Linked DNA regions of Homo sapiens: all the other regions are linked to region 2. The links are contacts of gene promoters, found by promoter capture Hi-C in blood cells and fetal thymus (Javierre and others, 2016). All regions are on one chromosome and are shown on one strand. Each heading gives the region's core, a stretch centred on a gene start or on the middle of the fragment in contact. The rest is flanking DNA. Distances are from core to core; before and after follow the strand shown.

Region 1 (3,003 bases), core at 459-2,958, 430 kb after region 2:
GATCCGATAGTTTTATAAGGGGCTTTTCCCCCTCTTCACTTCTCCTTACTGCTGCCATGTGAAGAAGGACGTATTTGCTTCCCTTTCCACCATAACTGTAAGTTTCCTGAGGCCTCCCCAGCCTTATGGAACTGTGAGTCAATTAAACCTCTTTCCTTTATAAATCACCCAGTCTCAGATGTGTCCTTATGGCAGTGTGAGAATGGACTAATAATACAAAGCTCAAATGGGCAGATAGCATGTGGGATAGGAGTATCAGTCCTAGAGTCCAAATGACTGATTTTTGTGCCCTGACCCCCAGATTTACTAAGGTACCTAACCTCGCTATGCCTCAATTCATCCATAAAATGGGGACACTAGTAGAATAATTTCATAGAATTGCTGTGAAGATTGAATAAGATCCATGTGTAAAGCATTTAGAGAAGTGCCTTGCACATGGTAAGAATCCAATAAATGCTAACTCCAACCATTGTTGGTGGTATTGCTATTATTATCCCTTTGCTAATGAGCTTGCAGTCTAGTGGAGAAGACAGACCATAGAACAAAGCTGGAGGAGTAGTGCAGCACGAAAAAGGTTACCAGCAGTATGCCTTGGGTGCAGAACCAGGAGACATCTTTATTCACAATCCTCATCACCTCCTCTGCGTAGTCTCTAGTTTGTCACTGTTCCAATGTACACAGAATTTAAAAATAATGTCCCAGATTCCATGTGAGGAGCACAGAGCCTAACGCTTCTCACGATCATCACACAATGCTTCCATTAATGCAGTAAGTTTGTGGAGCCATATCACACTGTTGGCTCACATGAAGCTTTTGGTCAAACAAGACCCCCAGGGCCTTTTCACATCAACTGCTGCCAAGTTGCATGTTCTCCATCCTGTATCCCTATAATTCTTTTTTGGACCTAAAAATAAGACTTTGCATTTATCCTTATTACATTTTGTGTTTTTAGTCTTGGCCCAGCATTGCAGCATGTCAAGATAATTCTAAATCTTGATTCTGTCAACTCTCTTATGTCTTTTTTTTTAATCCCCTCCAGACTTGTGTCATTGCATATTTGATCAGCATACCTACTACTTCCTCATTCAAGGCACTGATTCAAATGTTGACCAAAATGAGGCTAAGAGAATAGTCCAACAGTTCAATTGCAGAGCCCTCAGCATACTTAATTGTGTCCACTAATCATTTTGGGTATGATTGTTCAAGTAGTTTTAAATTCATTGAGAGGTATCCCTATTTCATCATTTTATTCAAAATACCTTGCTGATATGAAGTTACACTGGGTCTATGACATTCTTGAAGATTATTTTATCTGAAATGTTCCTGAAATGCTTGTATCTCCCTTAAATTTTATAAGAATATCAATTTCTACATCTAGATTATCAGTGAAGAATGTAGTGGACATCATTTAATAGGTGACTTAAGAATAAAATTATGCCATTTGATTGTTACTCTTGGACTCCAATTTGAGGCTTTAGTTTGAAGGTGCATTTGCTAGAATATTTGCCTGCCTCAACAAAGAGCCTCCAAAATCTCAGTGGCTTAAGACAACGGAAGCTTATTTCTCACTCACGTGAAGTCACATGAAGTGATCCTGATTGACAGGCTGCCTTCCATGTGTCATTAAGGAAATCTAATTTCTTCTATTTAGTGGCTTCCTTCTCCTCTTGTTCTTTGCAGTTCTAGGAAGTCAGCAGTTAATGGGGAAAGGAGACAGATGATGGCATGTGGAATGTTTTTATGGTCCAGGCCTGGGAGTAGTGCACATCAGTCACGTGACCACCCTACCTGCACGGGAGGCTGGGAAGTGCATTTCATGTATATGCCCAGCAAAACCAGAAAGTGAACAGCAAGCTTGGCTTAAAAACAGATAGAAAACATAGTTTAGGTGGGACTCACATGCTATTTCATGTTAAGTATGGTATTAAACCTGACAGTATAGGGGGTTGATGGATCAGAAGTGATAAGACCTAGGTTCTAATTCCAGGTCCATCATTTATTGGGTAAATGTAACCTTGGATAAGTCACAGAACTGTACAATTGCTAGGCTTAAGAGACTATCTTGGTCCATTTTGTCCGTTGCTAAATCCCTTTTGTTTGTGCCCATTTGTGTCACATTGTGTGGGCTGATCTCTTCCATATAGTTTTTGCTTGTTTCCCACTATAGAAAACAGACAAGCTCCAAAAACCATTCAAAGTAAAGCTCTGCCCCACTTACGTTGCTTCTATGACTTGAAGTCCAGTCACCAATGTTCCCTCCATAATTAAACTTAAGCAGCAGGCATTGAGTGCCTGTCGAGACCAGGACATGTGCTAAGTTGTGGATTGATACAACGAATCCTAAAATAAATAAAAACACTTGCACATGGTAAGAATTCAAAACTTCAGAATGAATTCAAAACTACTTGAACAATCATACCCAAAATGATTAGTGGACACAATTAAGTCTGCCCAGGGCTCTGCAATTGAACTGTTGCGCTATTCTCTTAGACTCCTTTTGGCCAACATTTGTATCAGTACCTTGAATGAGGAAGCAGTAGGTATGCTGATCAAATGTGCAATGACACAAGTCTAGAGGGGACTTTAAAAGAGACATAACAGAGTTGACAGAATCAAGATTAAAATTATCTTGACATGCCGCGATGCTGGTCCTATAGTTGAGGATCCATCTGACAGTTTTATATACCAGACAGCTCTCATCTAATTTGTTAATAAGAATTTTCAACAGCGAACAATCAAAATCTTCACTAAAACTACTAGAAAATATATTTAATTGGAGGCCAGATAATAGATGACCTTAAATGCAAGGACAGGGAATTTAGACTATTCCACACGCAACACGTGGGCTGTCAACAATTGTTAAGCCAGAAAATCTCACAGTCAAACTGAAGAAAACATAAAGCGTAGATGAAAGAACCTCTAATTCTGATGAGATGGCAGGCTGAAATCACTGGGAAACTCTGCCTTTTGTGTATGCCTAGGATTTGAGGATCAAATATAACA
Region 2 (3,069 bases), core at 376-2,875:
AAACCAAAACCAAAGTATCCAGCAATTCAAGTCAAGTCAAAACCAGAACAAGAGTGCCCATGCAGGCATGCTGTGGGTGATCAGGCCACGTTTCCACTCAGATGGAGTGGGGCAAGTTCCAAAGACTAGTCTTACCAAGTCAAGCCAAGTCAAAACCAGAACAAAAGTGCCAATACAGGCACACCGTGGGTGATCAGGCCACGCTTCCACTCACGTGGAGTGGGGCAAGTTCCAAAGACTAGTCTTACCAAGTCAAGCCAAGTCAAAACCAGAACAAAGATGTCAATACAGGCACACCGTGGGTGATCAGGCCATGCTTCCACTCACATGGAGTGGGGCAAGTTCCAAAAACTAGTCTTGACAAGCTTCAGATGTCTGGACTTCAAGTGCCAGTTCCTTCCCGGTGTTCAGCCAGTGTTAATCCTTCTCGGGAGCCTGCTATGCGCTGCTCTGGCAAGGCATTCCACCGGGGCCATTTCCTACCCGGGAGCGCTCTTTGGATTGCGTCAGTCAGGCTGGCCGGAGTCCTCTGCAGGGACGCTCCACAGGGCTTGTCAGTCACCTCGCTTCCTGGTCAGGGAACCAAGGACTGTAGCAGGACAAGCCACAGACAAAACCTCTCAGACACGGAGCTGTAGAAGAAAGGGCTTTATTCAGCTGGGAGCATTGGCAAGCTACTGCCTTAAAATCCGAGCTCCCCGAGTGCACAATTTCTGTCGCTTTTAAGAGCTCACAACACTAAAATTTCACATGAAAGGGTCGTGATTGATTTGAGCAAGCAAGGGGTACGTGACAGGGGCTGCATGCACCGATGGTCAGGGAGAAACAGAACAGGGCAGGGAGTTTCACAATGTTCTTCTATAGAATGTCTGGAATCTATGAATAACATCGGTTTCTAAGTCATGAGTTGATTTTTAACTACTAGGTTTAGGCCAGGCAGGCCCAGGTCCAGTTTTGGGCCTGGCGCTGGGCTGCCTGTCTTTGATTTCACTTCCTTTTTTTTTTAAAAAAAAAAAAAAAAACAGGTACTGAGTATAAAACAATATGAGAGGGTCTCTCTCTTCCCTCGCTTTAACTTTCGGAGGGCTGAAATTCTTTCTAGCCTTGGTTAATACAGCAATTCATTCCATTCTAGCTATTGTTATTTCTCTTACTATAATTTTACTATTAGTACTTACGCTATTCTATTATTTTCTTAATTTTCCACTTAATTAGGATAACAAACCGAGGCCGGGCTCCCATCCTCCTCAAGCACACGAGGGGGGCCTGGCCCAGCAGGGAGCTTCGCCTGGTTTCTGAGGGAATTCCCGGCGGGCCTTTCCAAAACATGCCCGTTCCCTTCCGCTAACTTCAGGGGCCAAGAATTGAACTTTCACCCTCCTCAAGCCGGTGGCGCTGCCTCGCTGGCGTTCCCAGCGCGCAGCCAACCGGATGCCAGCCGGCGGCATTACCACTGCCAGCATGGGGCGCCCGCGGACCTCCGACTGAGGCAGCTGCCGGGAGCCGGAAGTGTCCCGGGCGCCGGGACTGCGAGGGGGCCGGGAGTTCCCCAAGACCGGAAGTGTCCCGAGGCCGGGAGCCCGCGGGACCCCGGAGCGCGCGGGGCCGGAAGAGGCGGGCGGCCAGTGGAGGTCCGCAGAGTTTGGGCGCCAGGCGAGACGGCAGGGCTTAAAGTTCCGGGTGAGGCGTGGGTCCCACAACCGCTTGGAATTTGCCTCCCGGCTCCGCTCTGGAAGCTAAGAAGGGGCACGAGAGCCGGAGACGGGAACCTGAGAGCAGGGAAGCCAGTAGCCGGCCGGAGGAGCGCGCGGCCGCTCCAGTCGGAAGGAGCCGTTGCAGCCCTGCCCGGCGTGTGGCGGGGTCAGCGAGGCCCCTGCGGTGCTTCGCCCGCGCCTTCCGCTCCGCACTCACCCGCCCTCTGGGCCTCCCACAGGTCGGCGCCGCCAGCGGCGGGTACCGGCCCGCAGAGGGAGGGCGGGCTGTGAACTGGCAGCACATCGCGTTCCCGCGGGGCCCCCATTCTGCCCAGGCAGGGAGCGGCTGGGATGGGACTGAGGTCGGTCCGCGAGCGCGGTGCCCCAGAGACCCGGCTTCTGGAAGTTGCCGCGGCCTGCTCTTGGGGCCCAGAAGTAGGGCGGGGAGGCGCGGGGTCTGGAGTCTGCAGGACCTGGCTGCGAATCCAACCAGCTGATTTCAAACTTTTCTGTGATCTTCTGCAAGTTAACTAAGTCTCAGTTCCTCGTTTGCGAAATGTACTTAATAGGCACCCCAGGGTGAACTAAATTTGTCCGCACAGACTGCAGCATTGCGCTTGGGAGGCGCCTTAGGGGGTAGGAGTCACTAATATCACTGAGTTTTGACAGAAATGAAGGTGCATTGGCAAAGGTGTGCCCCATGGCCGGGCAGGTTAGGAGGAGGGCCTGGTAATATTTTTTCTTAAATTGTAAACAGCCATCTGGATGAGCAATGCATTATCAAATTATGATTCAGAGAGGACTATCGCTGACTACTCTTTTTTTTGGGCAAACCTCCGCTTCAGGAGCTTCTGGCTTGATTCCTAAGTGGAAGGTAGAGACCTAGGCCCTCTGAGTCACAACTCCATCTCTCTGGGTGAGGACTGAGCTCCAGGACTGCTGAGTGGAGGCAGAACAATTGGGATAGGGAAAAGAGAGGCCAAACTAGATCAGAGGCTGGCGTGGGCTTCAGAATCTACAGACTGGCACAGTTAATGCCTCCGGGCCCCTATTGCTGCTTCAAGTTTGACCAATCAGAAGTATCTTTAGCTTAAGGGCGGCGTGTTGGCCAATGAGACTTTATTGTGAAATAAAATGCCCTCAGTTTCATTTAACTGAGCCACCATAGAAGAGTAGAGAAATCGAGTTGGCCAGATGAGGGAGAGGCCATTAAGAGGTATTTTAGGGATTGAATGGGCTGGGCACCCAGAGGACAGTGGCATTTGGGGTGGTAATGAGAAGGAACATTAGGGGCCTCCGCCTCCTTCCGTTCCTCCTGTGCTGAGTCAGTCAGCACAGAGGCTGCAGGAGGTATCTCTGGTTGGCTTTGGCTGCC
Region 3 (2,970 bases), core at 209-2,708, 450 kb after region 2:
GCTGTAGGATATTGGGGAAAATAATGTCCTTATACCTCAGTTTCTTCATTTGCAAAATGGAGATAATACTCTATAGTGTACACAGTAGTCATGAGGCTAGCATGGGTGAGAACCACTGATAGGTTCCCAGTAAAAGGTAATTATTTCATTCAACTTGACTCAAAAATTTATTTGGCAAGTGTTATTCATCTAGGTATGACATCTAAGCAATAGTGACAATATTTTGGGGAAATAAAAACTCCAGAAACAGTTGTCAAGAACTGCTAAGGGTCTTAGATTTTACCCTTCTTGAAAACTAGCAACCAGTATAAGACATGAGACTTCTGGGTCAGAGACAAAGAATTTTATTATTCACAACAACAGCAGTAGCCAACGTCTTCTGATTGCAACAGAAATTTGTACAGTAATTTACTCTAATTTTAAAACAGCTGAGGCCAGGTTTTATGCATTTTTAATGCATAACAAGCCTTTTATAAATCATCTGTATTTTACTACTTGTCTCTGCTCCCATCTCAGATACATCATTATATGAAACATTTTTTTCCCATTAAATAAACACATGTATACAAATAAATATAAGTATGTAATTTATAGCAGTTGAGTTTAGTGATTAAAAACTCAGGTTCAGAAGTCAACCTGCCTCGGCTCAAATCCCAGCTTAACCACCACAGAGTGACCTTGGGCAAGCTATTTAACTTCTCTGTGCCTTTTTGTCATGTCTGTAAAATGGAGATAATAACAGTGTCTACTTCATAAGATTGATGAGTGGATAGAATGTTATAATCCATGTAAAGTGCTTATGACATCAAGCTTACAATAAATGGTAGCTATTATTAATAGTGTAAATTCACACAATCCTTTGGATTTCATCTTCTTTCCCAAGAGGAGGATTTAAAAAAATGTTTTCAATCTAGAACTTAGGGTTTCAGAATAAATCCACAGGCACTTATAAAAAAACTGCTCTCCCATTTTTCTTCTCTTACCATGAACCAACTTTAGATTGATTCTGTGTTTAAAAACAAAAGGGAAAAAGAAAAATAGGTACCAAATGAAAATTCTACCTTCTGGAAGCATTCACATAGTTAGTATTGTTTTTTTTCCATGACAAGAAGAATGTTCTTTTATCTAGAAACCATCTATATTGCTAGCATTTTCTCTTTGTTTTAGCTGTAGTCCAAGCAAGTTATTTACTAAGAAGCTAAAAATCGGAAATATATGTCTCCATATTTATGTTTTCTTAGTCATTTGTTTTTTAATTCTTGAAATCTCCAAAGGCAATTGGCACACACAAAAAAATCCTGGGGCTTAAGGAAAATGTTTACCAATCCATTAAACATATACAAGCCCTGGTTATAATAATTGTGCCTTCTTTCAAGTGGAGCTGGCAGGGCCTTCCCTATCATGGAGTCAAACTCCTCACTTTGACTTTATGGACCCGGAGCCTGAGCACAGGGAGGCGGGCGAATGCTCCAGTCTGAGCAGCCAAGTGCAGCTGGATTCCAGTGCTTTCTCTGCATCACACCATTCCTTCTGCCTGGCCACCTTCTATCCCCTTATTTTCCTTCATTCTCAGGATCAAAGCAGGTACATTTAGTTGGTATTGCATGAAATGCGATGTGTTGAATGAAACTGAAATGTGTTCCGATTTCATTCCTGGTGCTTTCTTGGCCATTGTAAGCAAGGTACCAAGGTCACTCTGCTTTTCCAATTGGGCTTTTTCAGCTTATTAAAACTACAGTGGTCCTTTGGGTGGTGACACCATTATGTATGGCACTGTTATGGCAGATACATGACATTATACATTTGTCAAAACACATAGACCTATGCAACACAGAATGAACCCTACCCTAAACCATGGATTTTAGTTCATAATAGCATTATTGGTTTTGATTAATCAGTTTTAACAAGTGTACCACACTAATGTCAGATGTTAACACTAGGGGAAACTGTGTGTGTTGAGGTGGGGGAAAGAGACGGAACTCACTGTACTTTCTGCTCAATTATTCTGTAAAAATATACCGTCCTAAAAATTAAATATATTATAGACAGATAGATAGATGATAGATAGATAGACAGAGTCTAAGATAAGTATATATATAAAGCTTCAGTGGTCAAACCTTGTTATATTTGAGAGATAGTATGGTAATGGAGCTTGTTTACCAACAACAATAACCACAAAAAATCGAAGACCAGTGATTTCTTATCTCATTTGGCATTGGTCTTTGGTGTGAAAAAGGTAAATTCTAGAACTCACTATTCACATAATCCATATCACACATCAAAGTCTACAGTATAAATACTATTCCTTAATAAAACTGATAATTTGCAAGGCATGGTGCAATGTAGTTTTGAAAGATGCTGTCATCTTTTTAATAACTAGCTCACATCCACTCTACCTGCCATGAATATTTGAACTCACTTTGGTCATGGTGTTGACATGAACCCTTCTGGCTGAGTTTTTTCCCTGACATTGTTTTCACTCTGTCCATTTATATTTTTGCTTATATTTTTGCCAATTTATTTGATGGTGTGTTAAAAACTGATTCAAACATCTAAAAGTTTCTTCTTCTGTCATGTACATTTCAAGAGTTTAGAAAATAATAAATCTTTCTCATATTTGCCTGCATGGACTTACAATACAAAAGCAAGCAACACAGAGTCTTGTCCACTGGAGCTATCAAAATTTCACAAAATTTCAGCCTTTTAATTGATTCATTAAACACACTGGGTGATAATTCTTGCATCTGAGCTAGTATCTTATGAGACAGTGAGAGTGGTTGAATTTTTATAGTAGCCAGTTGCATTGTTTAAACAGATGGTTTAACAAAACTACCCCTGATGGTACATTCCATTTTCCCTCAGAGTACATCTACTTAGAGTCATGCTGAATGTGACTTTTTATTGTAAGATTTAATTTTAGTTCATATTCCGTTTTCTAGGTACAGTAAGTTCAAGACACACTGTAAGATA
Region 4 (3,048 bases), core at 32-2,531, 290 kb after region 2:
CTCCACAATGCAACTAAATAAGCATAAGTGGTCAAAATTCTATGTTGTAAAGGTCCAATTATCCTTAATAATCAAAAAAATACATGAGATAAATCTCTTCATTTCTCTGGAGAAAAGATATGGAGTTGAAATTGCAATGGCTTGAAGGCTCAGCAGAGAAGTGATGAAACCCCAGGAGAGGCATTGATGGTGTCAGTGTTTAGAAGACACAACGAGTGTCACTAACATTTCTGCCTCCCTCACAAGTAGCTTAGCACATTTGTCACAGTTGTGCCTTGATACACAAGTGTTAGTGTTCATTCAACATTGTATGCTGGTCTTGGGGAAATAAAAGTGAGTAAGATGTAGTTTCTGATCTACGGTTGCTTTCAATTTGGTGGAGAAAACAGATACGAGAACAAATAAACATAAAATAGAGGATAATAATTAACATATGTAAAAAGTGCGACGTAAGACCCAAGGTGGGAGTAGGGTTCTCCTCGTAAGCACAGCACAGTTTCCTTCTGATTGGGATAAAGCCAGGATTTTAAATCGTCTGCATTTTCTCCTCAATTCACAACTAGAGGAAAAGGGAAAATAAAATGGCTTTGGTTCTTCTAATCTGCAATTGAGGTCCTAAGCCCTCTCCAGAGGTGACGGGCTCTAGGGAGGGTGACAGGTGACATTTTATTTCATTGTGTTTTCTCAGCATCTGATTTCTGAAAGACTAGAATACCTGACAGCCAGTCAGCTAGCATAAGGCAGCAGGGTTAGAAGTGTGAAAATTCCTTTGAAACACAGCACATGACCAGCATGAAACCTGCAACTCTACATATAGTTAATATAGAAGTGAATCCAGTGTAATCACCCAGGCACTTCAACATGATAAACGTACGTCATGCGCATTACCCTTTATACTTTCGATGACATTTTTTCTGTATCTTGCTTAATTTTCTCAGCCACCCTGAGAAGTGTTAGTTCTCTCTTATAGATAAGGAAGCCCTGATCTGCTGAACTTTTATCCAGTGTCTTTTCTTTTATCCTTGATTTAAAAGCCAGTCTCTTCAGCAGGAGTTAGAGGACATTTAGCTCTAATGTGATAATAAATTGAGAGTGGGGCCTCACACGATGCAAAGAAAAAAAGTGCCAGAGTTGGAGAAAATGACAAGGTTTCCAGATTTGACCCTGCCACTGACTGTGTGCTCTTGGACATGTTGCTCTACAAGCCTGGGTCCAATGATTTGGGCTTCCAACCCCCTTTCAGAGAACGTAGGAAAGAGAGTGTATGTTAATTTCTGATGACATAACCCAACTGGACACCAGAATCTGTCTTCTAGAAGTAATTCTGCACTTCAGGCAGAGTTCTCATGGAAAACTGACACCTTTCTGAAGCGCATATGTCTCTGATTTCAGCTCTACCATAGCTCTGACAATGCCACAATGAGACATCATTTATATGACATGAGGCACTTAGGGACTAAAGGATTTGGGAATTTCTCTCCAGCCTCAACCTAGAGTTTAAAAAAAACTTCATTCTGTTCAGTTCAAAAGCCGCTGAGCATCTGTAGCAATGATAATCCCTAGGTAGCCAGGATATGCTATGAAGATGCTGGCTCAGGGAAAATACACTCTCCTGCTTAGATAGGAAGAGTTAAAGGATCTTAAAAGGTAGTAGCAGGAAAGACAGGTGTCAGATATCAGTTCTTTCTACATCACAACTTTTGCGCGAGGCCCCTTAATAATAGGTCCTTTCTCATCTTCTTCATCAAAGGACAAATAGTGAGGGAATGTTAGATCCCCCAAATGAAACTCCACTAAAAAAAGATCAAGATCTACACAACAGTTTTGATGAGAGAAACAGAAGAATTGTTCAAGGAAGAAGTGGGCAGAGATATACATGTACTGTAGCTGCCAATTGTGCCTTGGGAAAGATGCAGTGTGATTAGACCTGATGATGCTTCTTGTCTTTGAATCAGCCTGATAACCCATCATCTCATCCTGCTTGTTTATTTGCTCACTTCTTGCTCAGTTATTTTTCATATTAGTCTCTTGAGTCTCCCCCCACCTCCAGAAAACCTTCCAACAGTGTAAAGTTTTCTGTGGGAATAAAAAATGGGTTGACTGCTGTTATTCTAAGCGGGCACAGTAGTGCTACTAGCTCCAGAAATAAAGGACTCTTTCATTACCTAGTGCTGGTGCCGGCTCTGAGTTATCTAGCTTTTATTTGGAGAGCCCCATGAAGCATGCAAAATTCCCACTGGACAAAAAGACCCAGGCTACCCTTAGAAAAATAAAAAGCACATATTGAACAATCTGCTGGAAACCGTCAGTTGAGTTCCTAAATGGTACAGGAAAACAGAAGCCAGTGAAGATGTGACATGGGATAGTAGTCCATGTCACCCACAATGGAAAATATGAACATTGGAAGAATTTCCTATTCTAAACAATGTGGGGTTTAAAATACACTCTGGAGACTCTCCTGAATGTACAGGCTTGTAGCTGCTATTTATAGTGACCGATGTGTACTTTACTGAGATTTTTATCCCAACAAAGGAACTGTATGTGATGTAGGGAGTTATTAAAATGGAAAATAAGCCCTCACATTCTAACCTAGTCATTGGTACACATCTCAAATGCAATGTCAGGTCTCACTAAAATAGATCAACTAGAAGTAAGCCCAGTAAAAATTATAAAATACCTTAAAAGAAATTTAATTTTGAAAAATGTTTAAGTCTACCTACCTGGTAACTTCCATCATGCTGGCAAAACATTAGAAGCTTATTCAAATGGTGAATACATACAAATGATTTATAATTAACAAATTAAGCTGTTCAATGTCAGTGAATGTTTTTAAAGTTATTTAAAAGGTTTAAAAAAAAGTTGTACTCTCCAGTACTTAAAAACTAAGCCATGGAATGTAGCTTACATATTTAACATGTTAACCAAAGACTTTATTTATAAATAATTCAAAGTTGTACTTTACTAATGTTCCTGAATAAATGATTAAAAATTCAAAAACAGTCTGCGTTAATGCAGGTTTAGGATAGGCTAAAAACTGATTTTCCACTG
Region 5 (2,892 bases), core at 188-2,687, 470 kb after region 2:
TGTTGTTTGGTCAAACATCAGCCTAGATGTTGCAGAGAAGGTATTTTAAAAGATATAATTGATATTTAAGTGAGTTGACTTTGAGTAGATTACCATACATCATGTGGGTGACGCTCATCCAATCAGCTGGAGGCCTTAAGAGAAAAGACTGAGGCCCTACAAAGGGGAAGGAATTCTGCCTCCAGACTCAAGTCTGCAATGTCACCTCTTGCCAGAACTTCCAGCCTGCTGGTCTGGGCCTGCAAATTTCAGACTTGCAGTTCCCACACTTTCTTTTAAAATGAATCAATCTCTGTCTCTCTATCTTTCTGTCTCTCTCCATATATATGTATATGTCCAAATATATATGTGTATATATTGAATCAATATCTTGTTGATTCTGTTTCTCTGGAAAACATGGAGTAATACAGCACATGTTTAGTAAGAGTTTAGTGAACCACCAACTTAATAGCAAGGAAAAGGAAGACGGCAAGTAGGGCTGAAGGCTGGACGGGAGAGGGAAAATGCTGGAAAGTATATGAGTAGATAGAGATTGAATAACCAGGGAAGAAACTGCATGCCACTCTTTTTAAGATAATGATGTCTACCTTTATTATGCACCTGGGTACCATATGTGCATAGAAATATTTTAATGCAATTGGATTTCCTTGTATTTTAGAGACTCTCATGTAAATATCAAACTGTAAGGTAGAATGAGATTAAGATATTTAAAAAGGGATTTAGGCCAACATAAAGCACATATAATAAAGGGTATTTATGTTTTATGGAGGATTTTCTGGAATCTTTAGAATCTTTGGGGACTGGATTAAGTCCCTGGGATTCCTAAACCCTTAGGAGTCCTCCAACTATTTTCAGTATTTTAAAAGTCACATTGAAGTCCTACCCCTGCCTGCTAAGCCTGCACAGTCTCGTTAAAATGTCAAATTTTGTTTGCTTTGGGCTAGAATTCTGTTAACCAAGTTTGATGGGGTTGGTTATCTTTTGCTGCCCAATATCTCTAATTGGCAATTGCACATATCTTGGAATAACTTTTTAAAAATGGAAGCATGGATAAACTAATTTTAAAATGCAGGTTGTTCGATAGCAAAGTCTTTTAAAACAAAGGAGGCACAAAAGGTGGAGAAAAAGAGGTAATGAAAGGAGTTTCTAGTGATGGGCAGGTGAGGAGCCTCATAATGGATAATTACTGAGCTCCTGAAAGGCCCAAGAGTTGAGTAAAGTCAGTGCAGTATCTGGTTAGCCACAAAGTTCACGGTGGTCCAAAGTTAAATGTCCTGAGTTTGCACATGCAGCCAAACTCATGCACAGATGCCACTAGAGAGATGGCTCAAGAGAAGCCACCACAGCAAGCCAGAGCATCCAGGTGAGATGCAACATGCTTACGGCAACTGCAGCAGCACTGTTCATTCAGCCTCGACCAAGGTAGGCCAAGGAGCTCCACAACTCAGCCCAACTTTGGGCCCCATCTCTGCCCCTCACTAAGCCTTTGACTTCTTTGTGCCTCAGTTTTCCCATTGGTAAAATAATTGATAATGATGGGTTCCAGGGTTGTTGCAATAAATAGTGTAACATATAAAGCACCCAGACCAATGACCGGAACAAAGCAAGCCTCCAATGCAGGTGGATTCTTGTTACACCTTAGGCACTGTGCCAAGAATCTTGCACACACCTTTTCCTAGTCCCCAGAACAATCCCCCAAGGAAAGCACTATTATTGTCTCCATTTCACAGATGAGTTTAAGGAAATTGTCTAATGTCACTCAGCTCATCCGTGGCAGAAACTGGACTCAAACAAAGCCTTGATATTACCAACCAGGGTGTGCCTGCCTGGGGGACACCAACTTACCTCACTCACTGTGTGCCCTGGGGCAAGTCACCTGGCCTCCCTGAGTGTGCATTCTTTCATCTGTAAAAGTAGAGGGTTATTTTCCAATTTCAATAATATATGTATTATGGTTATGTATGAGGTCATCATTGGGGAAAGCAGGGTGAAGAGCACATATCCACCCTCTAGACTCATGTTTTAACTCCTCCTAAGCTAAAATGATTCCAAGTAGAAAGTTTACAAACCACTGTAGGGATACACTACTTGGCAATTTTCCTTGTGTTGGGCACATACATGGTGCTCAATCAGTGCTTCTCGATGTGATTTGTTTGATTTCTAGACGCTAGAATGTGACCAGTACTGACCATATTGGTTTTTTTTTTCTTTTTTTTTTTTATTATACTTTAAGTTTTAGGGTACATGTGCACATTGTGCAGGTTAGTTACATATGTATACATGTGCCATGCTGGTGTGACATGAAAAACAGGTCTCTACAAAGTCTCTTGATTTAAGTAGCAAAAACAAAGAATCTGAGTTGATGGAAGCATTTTATTCTTTAAAAAAGTATCTCTCGGCTGGGCGCGGAGGCTCACGCCTGTAATCCCAGCACTTTGAGAGCCCGAGGCGGGTGCATCACGAGGTCAGGAGATCGAGACCATTCTGGCTAACACGGTGAAACTCCGTCTCTACTAAAAATACAAAAAAAATTTAGCTGGGCGTGGTGGGAGGCGCCTGTAGTCCCAGCTACTCGGGAGGCTGAGGCAGGAGAATGGCGTGAACCCTGGAGACAGAGCTTGAAGTGAGCCAAGATCGTGCCACTGCACTCCAGTCTGGGCGACAGAGCGAGACTCCATCTCAAAAAAAAAAAAAAAAAAAAGGTATCTCTCATGGTATTAAAATTTTACATATTTAAAATTAAAAGAAAAAAAACTAGGAGGTTGGAGGCAGAGATCTTTAAGGCCCCTTCCTGGGGTAAAACCCTTGTTCAGGATAGAACAAGCCACTCGTTGCAGGTCCCCTCCCCAACCCCCCTCGAACAGAGGCGGGGTTCTGTGCATGCCCTGCCCA
Region 6 (2,727 bases), core at 193-2,692, 350 kb after region 2:
TTATGGGCTGAAAATTACACTGAGAATATGTCTTAGAAGTTTCTGGTTACCATCTGTGTAGACATGAACTCAAAATTCTCTCTTAGATCTGAATTTCCATGAAAATCCAACTAAAGTGAATAGAAGGGTGAAAAAAGAAGCACATTAACAAAATTTCAAAACCATGCCTGATTTTCATTAGATCCATTATTTCAGTTTCCATTCTCTTTTAGCATATACATTTATAGGCCAGTGTGTATTTTCATGGCTATCTTCATTGTTTTCTTAAAACCAGGGTTTTGTTTGTTTGTTTGTTTGTTTGTTTTGTTTTTGAGATGGGATTGTCACTATGTTGCCTAGGATGGAGTGCAGTGGCACAATCATAGCTCACTACAGCTTTGAACTTCTGGGCTCAAGCATTCCTCCTGCCTCAGCCTCCCAAGTAGCTGGGACCACAGGCACGTGCCATCACATCTGGGTCAGGAGCTAGAGGGTTTACGTATAGTCATCATTGGGTACTAAAATGTTTTTTACAAGGGCTTCTTAGATGCTGATTGAATTTCCCAAAGCTTGGTAGAGATGATTTCAATACATTGGACTGGGTTGAGGTTGTAAAGATAGTTAAACACTTTATTAAGCCATCTGGAGCATCCCAAACATTAAGGCATGGATAACATAAACAACGCATACATATTAAGCATTTCCTGTGTGCTAGACACAGTGCTAAGCAAAAAGCATGCAATTGTAAACTTGAGCGGTATGGCCCAAGTTCTATTAGGCTTGCAGTCCAGTAGGGATGTCAATATTAAATATTACAATGTGGTGTGATAACCCTGCTCTGGAGAGGGTATCAGGAATTGTCAGGGCACAGAGAAAGGTAATAAGTCAAACTTGAGTCTGTTAAGCTTTCCTTAGGAAGTGGTATCCTAAGGTGAGATGTGAAGGAAGACTAGGAGTTAGGTCAGCAAGAGGCCATGGAATAGAGTGGAGAATGCTTCTTAATTCCGCAGAGACTGTCATTCATGTTCTAGCATGTTCTACAACTCCAGGCCTTTTTTTCTTGCTCCTGGGCCTCACGACGGTTCTTACTTCATCTAGTCAGGCTCCCTGTTCTCAGTTGCTCTTGCCTTGTGTGAAATCAGAAACACTCGCAGAGGAAAGAGGAGAGGAAATTAGTCTGGGATTTTGGATCTGGTTTAGCGTGGCCAATTTGGATTTTCCTGTGACTGAACAGGATTGAAATCTCTACCTCACACCCATGGCACCCAGTCTCCTGTGTTTTCCTCCTAAAGTTTTCCATTACAAATAAACAAAAATGTTGGCATGTGAACTACTGCCACTGGTTGACTGCTTGGTTTCCATCTTGCAGTATGTCATAGACACCAACTTCACATCATGTCCAGCTGCCTCTCGGAGCTCGGCTGCCCACAGAAGCTCTGGCGCAATGGTGGGTCATTGAGTTACATTTTCCAGTGTGGAGTGATAATTGCAAGATTTACTGAGCAGAGAAATATGACCCATCAAATTCAGTCTAAAAATAATTTTTGCTCTGAAAAAGAAAATCGAATTACCTTGCTCTTCACTATGAAAAATTGGCTTCATCTGGGTCAAGAGACATGGAACCTTTCTTTGAAGTAGACCCTACATTCCAAAATATCACTGGCAAACTCTGGGGCCTGCTTCTGATTAAATAATTGACATAAACCTCCGCCGAATAAACACTGAACCCTTCAAAAACAGAGAAGTAAATGAAAAATAAAAATGCATCTATGCTTTAAGTAGAAGATCTTCTGCAATAATTTGTTACCAGAAAGCAATTTACTTTTCCTTTTGTAAACCAGCATTAAAACCTAAGAAGAAAGCACACTGGGTGAAACTCTAGTTGAAACTTCGAAATAGTCTTAAATCTATTCTACATATTATCAGATTTAATGTTGACCTTAAGAGAGTGCTTCCATATTTATGGTTTGCTATCTTATCCCTCAAAACTAAATTTATTACTCATAGAATATGAAGCTTAAAAAGTAAAATATTGTATTTTCCTGAGAATATTTTGGTCTTTAAATTGACAACAGTATAAATACATTGTAAGAAAAAAAATAGCAACCCAACTGTGTGTATGTATACCTTGCCTCTTTCTTCAAGGAATGCTATCTGTGCATATAAAACTCAAAAACAGTTAACCAAGAAATAAAGAAAAAGAGTAAACTCTTTTGGGTTTATTACAGATGAGGTTATAACAAAATGGGCTGACGGCAAGTGTGACAAAAAGTATTGTTTGAAAATTCTAAATCTTGTTGCCACAAAACTGTGACTTTTTAGAAATATATGGGGAAATTTTATTGTAATAGAATGGAATTGAATTTATTGAAATTTTATTGTAAATGAATAAAATTTTGAAGAGGTCTTCAATAATGGAATGAGTAAGATAATTACTACTTCACTTAGCTTTCTAAAAACTTTGCACCAATGGATTTCTGCCTTCCCAGATGATTTTTTTCTCGTTTAGCTTTTGTATACTTTGAAAAATAGAACAATGACTTTGTTCTGTCCTTCATAGGTTGGGATTTATAAAAATGATTTTGTGTGCCTCTGCAAAATGTGGAGAAGTACTGAATAAACAACAAACAATCAGGTGTTCTTCAGTTAAAGGGACAGTTTTTAGAGGAACCCCGTGGTTGTAATGAATTATTTCTTGTTTTAAAAAGACCTTCTTACCTGAATAACGTTGTGAATCACACGAATGTC

Evidence for each region. The method cuts DNA at HindIII sites, captures the fragments that hold promoters and counts their contacts. A CHiCAGO score of 5 or more calls a contact.
Region 1: a fragment that was not itself captured here is called in contact with the fragment with the promoter of CYREN in region 2 in 1 of 17 cell types (M1 macrophages); the score reaches 6.3 in M1 macrophages.
Region 3: a fragment that was not itself captured here is called in contact with the fragment with the promoter of CYREN in region 2 in 4 of 17 cell types (non-activated CD4 T cells, naive CD8 T cells, endothelial precursors and 1 more); the score reaches 6.0 in non-activated CD4 T cells.
Region 4: a contact is called between a fragment that was not itself captured here and the fragment with the promoter of CYREN in region 2, in 1 of 17 cell types (non-activated CD4 T cells). The highest score is 5.3, in non-activated CD4 T cells.
Region 5: a contact is called between a fragment that was not itself captured here and the fragment with the promoter of CYREN in region 2, in 2 of 17 cell types (naive CD4 T cells and endothelial precursors). The highest score is 6.1, in naive CD4 T cells.
Region 6: a fragment that was not itself captured here is called in contact with the fragment with the promoter of CYREN in region 2 in 1 of 17 cell types (naive CD8 T cells); the score reaches 6.0 in naive CD8 T cells.

The regions. Positions count from the first base shown.
Region 1 is chr7:134,738,325-134,741,327 of GRCh38, reverse strand. All of the region lies in intron 1 of LOC124901750 (a long non-coding RNA gene), which reads left to right. It also overlaps a transcript of CALD1 not described here. Among named protein-coding and RNA genes, the nearest start is that of CALD1, 40 kb to the left of the region's middle. The HindIII fragment of the contact is 297 bases long and covers 1,560-1,856 here.
Region 2 is chr7:135,169,263-135,172,331 of GRCh38, reverse strand. It overlaps CYREN (cell cycle regulator of NHEJ), which reads left to right and starts at 1,625. Exons shown (of 4, transcript NM_024033.4): 1 at 1,625-1,680. RefSeq lists an enhancer at 885-1,104 and a silencer at 1,485-2,094. The HindIII fragment of the contact is 3,007 bases long and covers 368-3,069 here.
Region 3 is chr7:134,716,110-134,719,079 of GRCh38, reverse strand. The region is part of intron 1 of LOC124901750 (a long non-coding RNA gene); the gene reads left to right. It also overlaps a transcript of CALD1 not described here. Among named protein-coding and RNA genes, the nearest start is that of CALD1, 62 kb to the left of the region's middle. The HindIII fragment of the contact is 1,292 bases long and covers 813-2,104 here.
Region 4 is chr7:134,879,378-134,882,425 of GRCh38, reverse strand. The region is part of intron 3 of CALD1 (caldesmon 1); the gene reads right to left. Among named protein-coding and RNA genes, the nearest start is that of CALD1, 100 kb to the right of the region's middle. The HindIII fragment of the contact is 2,955 bases long and covers 1-2,758 here.
Region 5 is chr7:134,696,472-134,699,363 of GRCh38, reverse strand. All of the region lies in intron 1 of LOC124901750 (a long non-coding RNA gene), which reads left to right. Among named protein-coding and RNA genes, the nearest start is that of BPGM, 51 kb to the right of the region's middle. The HindIII fragment of the contact is 3,866 bases long and covers 1-2,892 here.
Region 6 is chr7:134,817,461-134,820,187 of GRCh38, reverse strand. The region is part of intron 1 of CALD1 (caldesmon 1); the gene reads right to left. LOC124901750 (a long non-coding RNA gene) reads left to right here. Exons shown (of 2, transcript XR_007060537.1): 1 at 1-2,727. Among named protein-coding and RNA genes, the nearest start is that of CALD1, 39 kb to the right of the region's middle. The HindIII fragment of the contact is 1,111 bases long and covers 887-1,997 here.